Regions from separate parts of the Homo sapiens genome. Here region 1 is linked to region 2. The links are contacts of gene promoters, found by promoter capture Hi-C in human tissues and cell types (Jung and others, 2019). All regions are on one chromosome and are shown on one strand. Each heading gives the region's core, a stretch centred on a gene start or on the middle of the fragment in contact. The rest is flanking DNA. Distances are from core to core; before and after follow the strand shown.

What was found. Contacts are between HindIII fragments. The study calls those that stand out against the background at their distance.
Region 1: a contact is called between a fragment that was not itself captured here and the fragment with the promoter of FAAH in region 2, in 1 of the 25 tissues and cell types used here (aorta).

The regions. Positions count from the first base shown.
Region 1 is chr1:46,698,749-46,703,833 of GRCh38, reverse strand. All of the region lies in intron 3 of EFCAB14 (EF-hand calcium binding domain 14), which reads left to right. Among named protein-coding and RNA genes, the nearest start is that of EFCAB14, 18 kb to the left of the region's middle. The HindIII fragment of the contact is 3,701 bases long and covers 440-4,140 here.
Region 2 is chr1:46,391,857-46,397,516 of GRCh38, reverse strand. It overlaps FAAH (fatty acid amide hydrolase), which reads right to left and starts at 3,200. Exons shown (of 15, transcript NM_001441.3): 1 at 2,974-3,200. The coding sequence starts at 3,168. RefSeq lists an enhancer at 2,799-3,312. The HindIII fragment of the contact is 5,547 bases long and covers 1,096-5,660 here.

The DNA of each region.
Region 1 (5,085 bases), core at 1,041-3,540, 310 kb before region 2:
ACACATGCAGAGCAGCAAGGAATTTGAGTCACCCAGCATGCATATATACAGCTGAGTTTGAACAAGGTGACATGCTGCCTTCTTGGTTCAGCTCTCATACTGTAAACAGTGTCTTTTTCACAATATATTTAATGCCATATTTTTTATATTTTTGTGCTGTTTTTGGTGATTTCCATGTTCAAAAATGTCCCTCAGCCATAGTGCTAATGTGTTGTCTATTGTTCCAAAGTGCAGGGAGACTGTGATGTTCCCTATGGAAAAAATACATGTGTTAGATAGGCTTCTTTCAGGCATGAGTTATGGTTCTGCTGGCTGTGGGTTCAATGCTAATGAGTCAACAATATGCATTAAATAAGATGTCTTTAAACAGAAATACATATACAACAAGGTTATGTATTGTATTGATCAGTTTAAAAAAATTGAGCAGGCCGGGCACAGTGGCTTATGCCTATAATCCCAGCACTTTGGGAGGCCGAGGTGGGTGGATCACGAGGTCAGGAGTTCGAGACCAGCCTGGCCAACATGGTGAAACCTTGTCTCTACTAAAAATACAAAAATTAGCCAGGCGTGGTGGCGAGCACCTGTAATCCCAGCTACCTGGGAGGCTAAAGCAGGAGAATCACTTGAACCCGGGAGGCAGAGGTTGCAGTGAGCTGAGATCGTGCCATTGCACTCCAGCCTGGGCGACAAGAGCAAGACTCTGTCTCAAAAAAAAAAAAAGTACGAGCAGAGGACTCACAGGAACCTAACCTGTGTTTCCCCAAGGAACAGTTGTTCAATATTCACTAATTGAATGTTTTGTTGCAAGTTTTCTAGAACATAACTACCACTAATAATGAGAATTGACTATATGTGCAAAAGTATAGATGAATGAAAACATGGTGTGTTCAGGGAATTTTAGTCACTCATTATAGCTACAGTATGGTTTGGTAAAAAAGGCCAGAGATAAGTAAGTCAGCAAGAGCCGTATCAAGAAGGACCTTGAGTGCCCTTCTCCTATAGTACTCTGTGTAGCTCTCTTTTAGCACTCAGTCCAAATACCTTATGTGATGCTTATTTGCATATACTTCTAATTGCACTAGAAAGTTGTACACTGTACTCTAAGCCTTAAGCATGATGATAAAGAAAACGATGGCAATGATGATGATAACGATGATGGTATTGACGATAACTGCCATTCATTAAATGCTTTCTTTGTGCCAGCCATTATTAGGTGCACTGCACATGTGATCTCCTTTCTTGGCTTCTACAGTCCTATGAAGTAGGAGGTGTTCTCTCCATTTTACAGTTAAGAACACTGAGGTTCAAAGAAGTTAAGTAGCTTGTCCACAGTCACTCAGCTGTGTAGCAATACTAAAAGTAAAATATTCAAGTCCTGGAAGCCTCTCTTCTTTCCAGCTTCCCATGCTGCGTTACATCTTGGTAGCCCCTGTAGGATTCAGTAGGTGCTCAGTAGATAAAGCTGAAAGGATATGATGCTGAGTCCCTGCTAGGACTAATAATCACTCATCATTGATGATTGTCTGTTTTAATAACTTTTTCTTTACTATTTAAAGGACACTTAACTTCAACCCCAAAGCAAAAAAGCAGCATTTCCAACTTCATAGTATAAAATGATGTATTAAGCAAATGGTCTACTGTAGCTATTTTTAATTTTTCTAATGAAAAGTCATGTAATATGCATAAAAGTCATGACTCATCTTTTGGCTGGAATATGGATTTTTCTTAATGGGTTCTATTTAATTCAACTTTTTAGACTCTGAATTCCAAAGTGTGACTTTTCTAATGCCTGAATCTGATCTGACATTCTAGAATGCATCTGTTAGAGGCCAGAGCAATTCCAGAGAAAGTAATGGGAGGGTGCCTCATCTCCATTTTAGTTACATATATAAGCTTTGCTATAGCTTTCCACAGATGTTGGCATTATTTTACTGAAGAGAGAAATGCTAGAAGACGGAATCCAGCTTTGTAATTTATGGGTTAAATAGCCAAGTCCTAGGGAACAGTGGGTGATCCAGGTTTTATAAGTGAGTAAGAAGACCTAAGTGATGTTTGGTACCTGGAAAGTTAATGGTCAGCTCTCCAGAGCATGCTTTTGCAGTGAGGCAGCTGATACACTAGGCATAGAGTGTTTGCAGCACAGAGAAAAGTGCAGCAGCACCTCACTCGATCCTGCTGGCATTGGCTTTCAGCTGCTTCTTAACTTTGGGTGAAACGGCAGCTGCCAACCAGTCACACTGGCTTTTTGTGAGACCACTACCATTCCCGAGATACTTCTGATTAGCCATGCACTCTGCCATAGCCTCAGGAGGTTGGAACTTTCAGTACCTGGAAGAAGAGTTTTTACCCAAAGAACAGCTTCTTCCTTTAGGATCTGGCCAGTTGTCAGTGGAGGAAGGTGTTTGTCCCCTCAGGTGGCTGAAAGGTAACTACATAATTGATAAGAGTATTAGGAATAACTATAGTCTTGCCCTTCAAACTGATCTTGAACCAACTGTGTACATACTTTGGGGCACTAAGGAAAACATACCTGGGGCAGGAACCCTTCCTAGCATTTTATGATTGGGCATGTTACAGTGGTCTCAGAAAGCCCCGTGAGGGCATGGAAGAAAGGGTCAGCCAAGAAAACCCATCAAACCCTTTGCAAAGTTATGTGGCGTCTTTTTCCTGTGTGTGTATTTCTTTCTCATCTTTTGTCTTTTTAAAAATTTCTTAAGTAATTTGTGAGTGGATTCTTATATAAGGTTTAAACTATAAAACACATACAGAAATCCTATGAAAATTTTCCTTCAATTCCCATCTCTGTGTTCCCATCTCACATGCACACACACACACACACACACACACTCACTCACTCTCTCTCTCTCTCTCTCTCTCATGCCCCCATAGGTGTCCAGTCAGTAATGTGGGCTTCATCCTCCTAGTTCTCTATTTACAAAATCATAATAGTTTTTAGTATGAATTAGCCTATGGGTTAACATGCGTGTGTGTTTGTAAATAAATAAGGTCATTCAATATATGTTCTGCAGCTTGCTTTTCCACTGAATATATGCACATTCTTAGTGATATACATTTAAATTGTTTCTAGTATTTTGCTGTTACAAATAAGGAAAAATTATTTTAAAAAATATATCATGTACATGAGCTATTTTATAAGATTTCTAGACATGAAATTGCTAAAATAAAGAATATAAACATTTCAAATTTTGATGGATATTCCTAGATAAACTTCTTACAAGTCTTCTCTAATTTATACTCCCATAAGCAGAGCATGAAAATGCCTGTTTCTATATGTCCTTTTCAAACCTGGATATCATTCATATCTTTTTAAAGGCATGAGTGAAAACCTCCTTAATGTAATTGCTTCTCTTAGGAAGTTTATGGTTTGCTGAGAGTATCTCTGTGGACTGAGGTTTCTCACCCATCTTGTTTTTAAATGAACAGAGTTACAATGTTGATGATTAGTCTGGTTATTCTGGAGTCCTTATGTAGAATTGCATGTTTTAGTGCTTATTAATTTCACTATTAAAGAACTGTCACTTATTTGATATTTCATCTGTACCAGGTACTATGCTAAGAGCTTTGATTATATGTCTCATTTAATTCTCATAGCCTGTATTGATCATCTGTTCCTTGGTTACAAATTACCCCAAAACTTAGTGGCCTAAAACAACAGTCATTTAGTATCTTACGGTTTCTATATGTCAGGAATTTGGGAGCAGCTTAGCAGACTGGTTCTGGCCAAGATCTCTAAGGTTGCAATTAAGATGTCATCCGGGTCTTTATAACCTGGAGGTCTGACTGGGGCTGGAGGTTCCTCACTCACATGGCTTTTGGTAGGAGGCCTCAGTTCCTCCCAACATGGACTTGTCATTCTGGGGCTACTCGAGTGTCCTCACAGCATGGCAGCTCCCTTCCCCAGAGTGACTAATCCAAGGAGAGCAAAGAAGAAGGCATAGGACCTTTTGTGACCTAATTTCTAAAGTTGCCAGTTGTCACTTCCACTTTATTCTCTTCTGTAGAAGCAAGTTACTTATGTCAGGCTACACTCTAGGGAAGGGGAAGTAGGTTTCACCTCTTGAAGGGAAGAAGACTATCAAAGAATTTGTAGACATATTTTGAAACCATCACGTATCCTTATAAGATAGTTGTTAAATAGTTGTTGTTGTTATTATTATTATACCCAGTTACTGATGAAAAGAATAAATTCACTACTTATCTAGCCTTATCTCCTACCCCCCGGCCTCTGTCTTCTACTCTGCTTAGACTAGCCTTCTCAATGTCCATCCCAGACACAGAGTGTTAATTCTCAGCCATTCATTCAACAAATGCCAGTCTTTGTATCACGGGTATTGTGGAAAGTAAAAGAGACATGGTCCTTGATCATGTGGAGCTTATAGTCTTGTGGAAGAGAGAAACCTCAATCAAATAACCACCTAAACAAATCATTGTCACTTTGAGAAGTGCTATGAAAAGAAAGTACTCCTGAGCCTGTTCATACTGTGTTCCCTATCCCCCGATGCCACCCTCACCCTTCTAACCTAGAAAGAATGCCTGCTTGGTTTTTATGTATAAAATTCTAACTTCTCTGTCAGAGTCCAATTTGAGTCCTCCTTCAGCGAAGCCTGTTTCTTTCAGCTTGCATTGATATCCTTTTCTCAGAACTTTATTCAGTATCACGTTTAATGCTTAATTGTTTCTTTAATGTACTCTTGCCTTGTCTCTCAGTTATATTGAAAGCTCCTTGAGGTGAGAGACCTAAGAGTTTCCCTTAATTCTTCTATCTTCCCCACTGTTAACACCCAGTCCCAGCAAATCGTATCATCTCTACTTCTGCTACTACCTCTACTACCACTCAAGTCTAAACCACCATTATCTCTTGCCGAGACTACACAGATCTCCTTCTTACTGGTCTCTCCATTTCTACTGACAGCCATAGTAGTCTTCCTCCAAGGTGTCTCCATTCATGTAATTATCCTGCTTACACACCCCTGCCTATCACACCTCAAGTAAAACCCATGTGCTTGTTCTGGTTTACAGAGTCCTGTCTGTTCTGGCACTTTACTGCACAACTGGCCTCACCAC
Region 2 (5,660 bases), core at 1,951-4,450:
AGCTATTGTCAATCAGGACCCCACCCCTTTGCTGATTACTCAAAACCACAATCACTGGAAACCTGAAAGGTAATTTCCCGCTTCTCCTCCTGAAAGAGCCAAGCTTTCAGAGCCAAAACTTCTGTCCTGGAATAATCTGTTCGTAAAAATAATGAAGAGCAGTTGCTCCAGAGGAAAACCATATAGATGCTGCTGTTTGGAGCCGAAGTGCAGGAAGACCCATCCTGCTACCATCCCACACCCCTGCCAGCCAGGTGGATTCCTTGCAACCAGGAGGGGAGTTCTGCAGGCAAGAGCTGTGAGCAGATCCCTGCTAGTGCTGCCCACGCTGCTCTTGGAGCTGGCAGAACTCAGCTGGCTGCACAGAGCCAGGGATAAACAGGAGGATCTCTAAGGAGGACCTCCAGCGCCCAGCCAGAGAGGGCAACTAGACAGTGAAGAACCTGTGCTTGTGTAGGGGAGATGGCCAATTTGGGTTGACCACCAGGGCCCTCTCACTCTGGAAGGAAGAAACCCTAAAAACTGACTGATGGTGGACTTTTCAGCCAGCTTGGTGAGTGGAGGCTGGAACCAGATATATTTTTTATCTTACTAAATAAATATGAGATATCTTGGCCCCAGGGATGGTTTGGAGTAAATTCATACATTACAGCCAGCCAAAACCGCAACACATGTGTGGGGAAAAGAGAGATCAGACTGTTACTGTGTCTATGTAAAAAGAAGTAGACATAAGAAATTCCATTTTGTTCTGTACTAAGAGAAATTCTTCTGCCTTGAGATGCTGGTAATCTGTAAACCTAGCCCCAACCCTATGCTCGCAGAAACATGTGCTGTGTTGACTCAAGGTTTAATTAGGGCTGTGCAGGATGTGCTTTGTTAAAAATGTGTTTGCAGGCAGTATGCTTGGCAAAAAGTCATCGCCATTCTCCCGTCTTGAGTACCCAGGGGCACAATGCACTGCGGAAGGCTGCAGGCACCTCTGCCCAAGAAAGCCTGGGTATTCTCCAAGGTTTCTCCCCACTGAGACAGCCTGAGATACGGCCTTGTGGGAAGGGAAAGACCTGACCATACCTCAGCCCGATACCCGTAAAGGGTCTGTGCTGAGGAGGATCAGTGAAAGAGGAAGGCCTCTTTGCAGTTGAGATAAGAGGAAGGCATCTATCTCCTGCTCGTCCCTGGGAATGGAATGTGTCAGTGTAAAACCCGATCCTACGTTCTATTTACTGAGATAGGAGAAAACCACCTTATGGCTGGAGGTGAGACATGCTGGTGACAATACTGTTGTTTACTGCACTGAGATGCTTGTATAAAGTCAAACATAAATCTGGCCTACATACACATCAAGGCACAGCACCTTTCCTTAAACTTATGACACAGAGTCCTTTGCTCACATGTTTTCCTGTTGACCCTTTCCCCACCATTACCCTATAGTCCTGCCACATCCCCCTCACCGAGATGGTAGAGATAGTGATCAATAAATACTGACGGAACTCAGAGACCAGTGCTGGCGCGGGTCCTCCCTATACTGAGCGGTGGTCCCCTGGGCCCACTGTTCTTTCTCTATACTTTGTCTCTGTGTCTTATTTCTTTTCTCAGTCTCTTGTCCCACCTGAGGAGAAATACCCACAGGTGTGGAGGGGCTGGCCCCCTTCAACATGCAGGGCTACACCCTGGGCTGGCATGCAAGGTGCCTTCCTCATATCTCTCTCCTGTTCCTCTCCACGAAAGTGTGGCTGCAGAGTGCAGCGGGCACCTAGGTTCTAGTTCCAGCTCTGCCCCAACTCAAAAATCACTTGCGGAACATCTGCTGAACACAATTTTCTGTGACTCTTTCTGTCTCCCACCCAGGCACACCCTCCTGAGTCCTGCGGTTCCCAACCTGTAAAGCCTTCCCACCTGTCAGGTCCCACAGATACAGCAAGCCCTCCCTCTCTCAGCACATAAGAAGGCTTTAACTGGGGTCAGTGTTTCACACACCCAGAGGAAAAGCCCCTCTTCAAGCCACATCTTCCAAACCCTCAGCCAGGCCCTTCCACGCCTCCAAACCCACATACTGAGGTGATCCAAAGGCAGCGCAGGGAGAAAAGCTTGTTGACAGACCACCCACGGAGGGCTGGAACTAAACCTGCTCATGGAAAGGGCTTGCCAGGGGTTGGACACCACAGCAGGAGCCAGAGAGACTTCCCTTCTAGCCTGGCTTTGCCAAGATCTCCCTGTGCACTTGGCAGGTTTCTTTCTGGCTCCCTCTTAGGATCCAAATGCACAAATCAAGAAGCTTGAACTCAGCCAGGCGCGGTGGCTCACGCCCAGCACTTTGGGAGGCCGAGGCAGGTGTATCAACTGAGGTCAGGCGTTTGAGATCAGCCTGGCCAACATGGTGAAACCCAGTCTCTACTAAAAATGCAAAAATTAGCCAGGCGTAGTGGCGGGCCCCTGTAATCCCAGCTACTGGGGATGCTGAGGCAGCAAGAATCGCTTGCACCCGGGAGGCGGAGGTTGCAGTGAGCCGAGATCGCACCACTGCACTCTTGCCTGGGAGTCAGAGCGAGACTCCGTCTCAAAACAAAACAAAAAAAAACAAAAAACAAAACTCTAAGCTCTCCAGATCCCCTTGGCCATTACACTCTGCGATTCCAAAGTCCTCAACCCCTGGCATCCCACTGGTTGTCACGCTTGCGTTTTCGCATTCCAATAGGCAGCAATCGTGAGATTCTTTGGCACAAAGCAAAACTCCTCTTTGACCCAGTGAGGGAAAGGCCTTCCACCACCTGCCTTGACACTACCGTTTCCTTTCTTCCCCCGTGCTCTACCTGGCTCAGAAAGTGCGGAATATCTTAGGGCAAGGAGAGATTCTGGAGAGTTACACATCTGCTCTGCCCGCCCCATCCCCTGTCCCTCGGCGGGTCCGGCGGCTGAAAGTGCCGCTGCGAGTACCCTCAGGCCGCGCCCATCCCACTACGCTCCGGCAGTCACCTGGAGCCGGAAGCGCTGCGCCGCCCTGTCCATGTTCTCCAGGCCCGCTCGCTGCCTCTGTCGCGCCCGGACCACCGCGCCCCGCGCCGTCCGGCGCCCGGACCAGCGCAGGGCCACGGCCGCCGCCACGAAGCAGCAGGCCAGGGCGACCCCGGAGGCGCCAGGCAGCGCGGCCCACAGCTCGTACTGCACCATGATCCCTTCAGCCTGCTGCTGCCTACCGCGACAGTTGAAGCCGCCGCACGCGCAGCCCGCCCGCTCCGCCGCAAAACCCGGACTGGATCAGCCGGGATCCCACGCCCGCCTGCGCGGGAGGGGCGGGGAAGCGCGCCAGAGCCTAGAGGCTATCAGAGGCGGCCCGCCTGGCATCGCCCCCAGCGACATCCCGCTCCCCGCCAAGCCGAGCAGGCGGGTGGGGAAGGGCGACTGTTTCTCGTGGGCGACCTCCCAAGCTTGAGTTTAGCACCGGTTGGGCACCACAGCCCCGGCCGTCCTCTGCCCCCTGCACCCCAGAGCCCCAAATGCTGAAGACTGCGCCCCAGCCGGAGCCCCATGCCAGACATGCCAGCTGTTAGATATGAGTTCTAAATTTATCTTAAAAGAATCAATATGTCAGTATCTTCAATTCTTTGCCTTCTACTTTTAAACTTAACTTCCTCATAAAGCAACATTTTTCGATTACCTGCTCCTCCCTCACTCATTCTTCACCGTGGTTCATTCCGATTTCCTGCTCTGCGGTAACCATTTTTCCCGCCAAACCACTCACCCCCTCACTGTCTTTAAATTAGCCAATCGGAATTAGTTTAGCCTATAGGTCTAACCCTAGCCAACAGGGGAAGGACACAGCATCAGGAATCACGTGGGTCAGGCATAAGAACCACCTTCCCCTCCCTTGTCCAGGTGTGCGCTCACCTTTGCTCCGTCTGTGAGGGCGCACCCTTCTATAGAAGTAAATTGCCTTGCTGAGAAGAAAAAAAAGAAAATTTTATATTCGAGTGCTATTTCTTTTGCGGCACTGGGGGGAAACTTTATTTATAACAATTTGGGGGCTTGCTCGTGATTACATTCCCCTTCAGGGGCAGTCTCTGGTTCTCTCTCCTGAGGAGGTATGCCCCACCCTCTTGTGATGGCCTCAGGGGTGAGAAATCAGGACTCACCCAGTGCAAGAAATAACCTGAGCTCTCAGCAATGTGAAAAGAAACCAGCAGGCAACCTAGGGTAAAGCATCCTCACACACTGCAGAGACAACTCTGTGCACAGACAAAGGAAGAAGCCGAGGGAGCCGGTAAGGTACTTCCTTGGTGGTCAAATTCTGGAGGGCTAAATGTGTGTGTGCGTGAATGATCACAAACAACCCTACCTGTGGTGTTGTTCGTGTGGATGATGACAAGTCCTACTGCTGGACGGAGTGAGTGGGTCCTCTCCACGTTTCCGTAGCTACCTCATATGGCTTAGGGAGGATCCTGCGGTGGGATTTCTACTGGAATGCCAATGCTGAGGGGGGCCTAATTCTCCCTTGGGGGAGCAGCCAGAGAGGACAACACGAGTGGGAAGTGTGCAAAGGACCTTCAGAGGGGGAAAGGGAGGAAACAGGTCAACCTTCCAGGGAAGCAAGGCAAGACACCTCCTAGTTTGAGGGATTGAGCCTTCCAGGGCAGCAAGGCAAAACACCCCCTGGTTTGAGGGGTTGAGCCTTCCAGGTCAGGCAAGGCAAGATACCCCCTGGTTTGAGGTGTTGAGCCTTCCACAAATTTCAGGGGATCAAAAACCTCACACAAACCTCCGGTAGTAAGAAAAATATTCAGAATTCCCCTTTCCTTTCTTCTCGGGGAAGAAAAAGTAGCTGCACTCCTGACGGTCCCTTCCCTAGGGGAAGGGGAAGGAGAGGGGAGAACAGCAGCATAAGCAGCTGGCAGAGGCAGGGAAAGACCAGCAGAGAGGAAAGAGAAACTGGGAGAGGAAGTTGGAGAGAAAGAGAGAGGCAAAGAGAGAGAAAGAGAGGCAGAGAGAGAAAGAGACAGAAAGACAGAAGCCAGGCGTGGTGGCTCATGCCTGTAATCCCAGCACTTTGGGAGGCCAAGGCCGGTGGATCACGAGGTCAGGAGATCAAGACCATCCTGGCTAACACCGTGAAACCCCATCTCTACTAAAAATACAAAAAAATTAGCCAGGCGTGGTGGCGGGCGCCTGTAGTCCCAGCTACTCAGGAGGCTGAGGCAGGAGAATGGCGTGAACCTGGGAGGCGGAGCTTGCAGTGAGCCGAGATCGCGCCACTGCACTCCAGCCTGGGTGATAGAGCTAGACTCTGTCTCAAAAGAAAAAGAGAGAGAGAGAGGGAGTCAGAGACAGGGAAAGAGAGAGAGAGTCAAAGAGAGAGAGAGAGAAAGAGAGATAGAAGTAGTAAAGAGAAAACAGTGTACCCTATTCCTTTAAAAGCCAGGATAAAATTCAAAACCTGTAATTGATAATTGAAGGTCTTCTCCATGACCCTATAACACTCCAATACCACCTTGTTGTCAGTGTAAACAAGGATGTAGCCCAAAAGCACTGAGGCCACTGACAACCCGTAACCTCCCTAATCAAAACTCCTTAACCCAGTAACCGGCAGATGGCCCAAATGCATTCAATCTGTAGCAGCAACTGCTTTGCTAACAGAAGAAAGTAGAAAAACAACTTTTAGAGGAAAC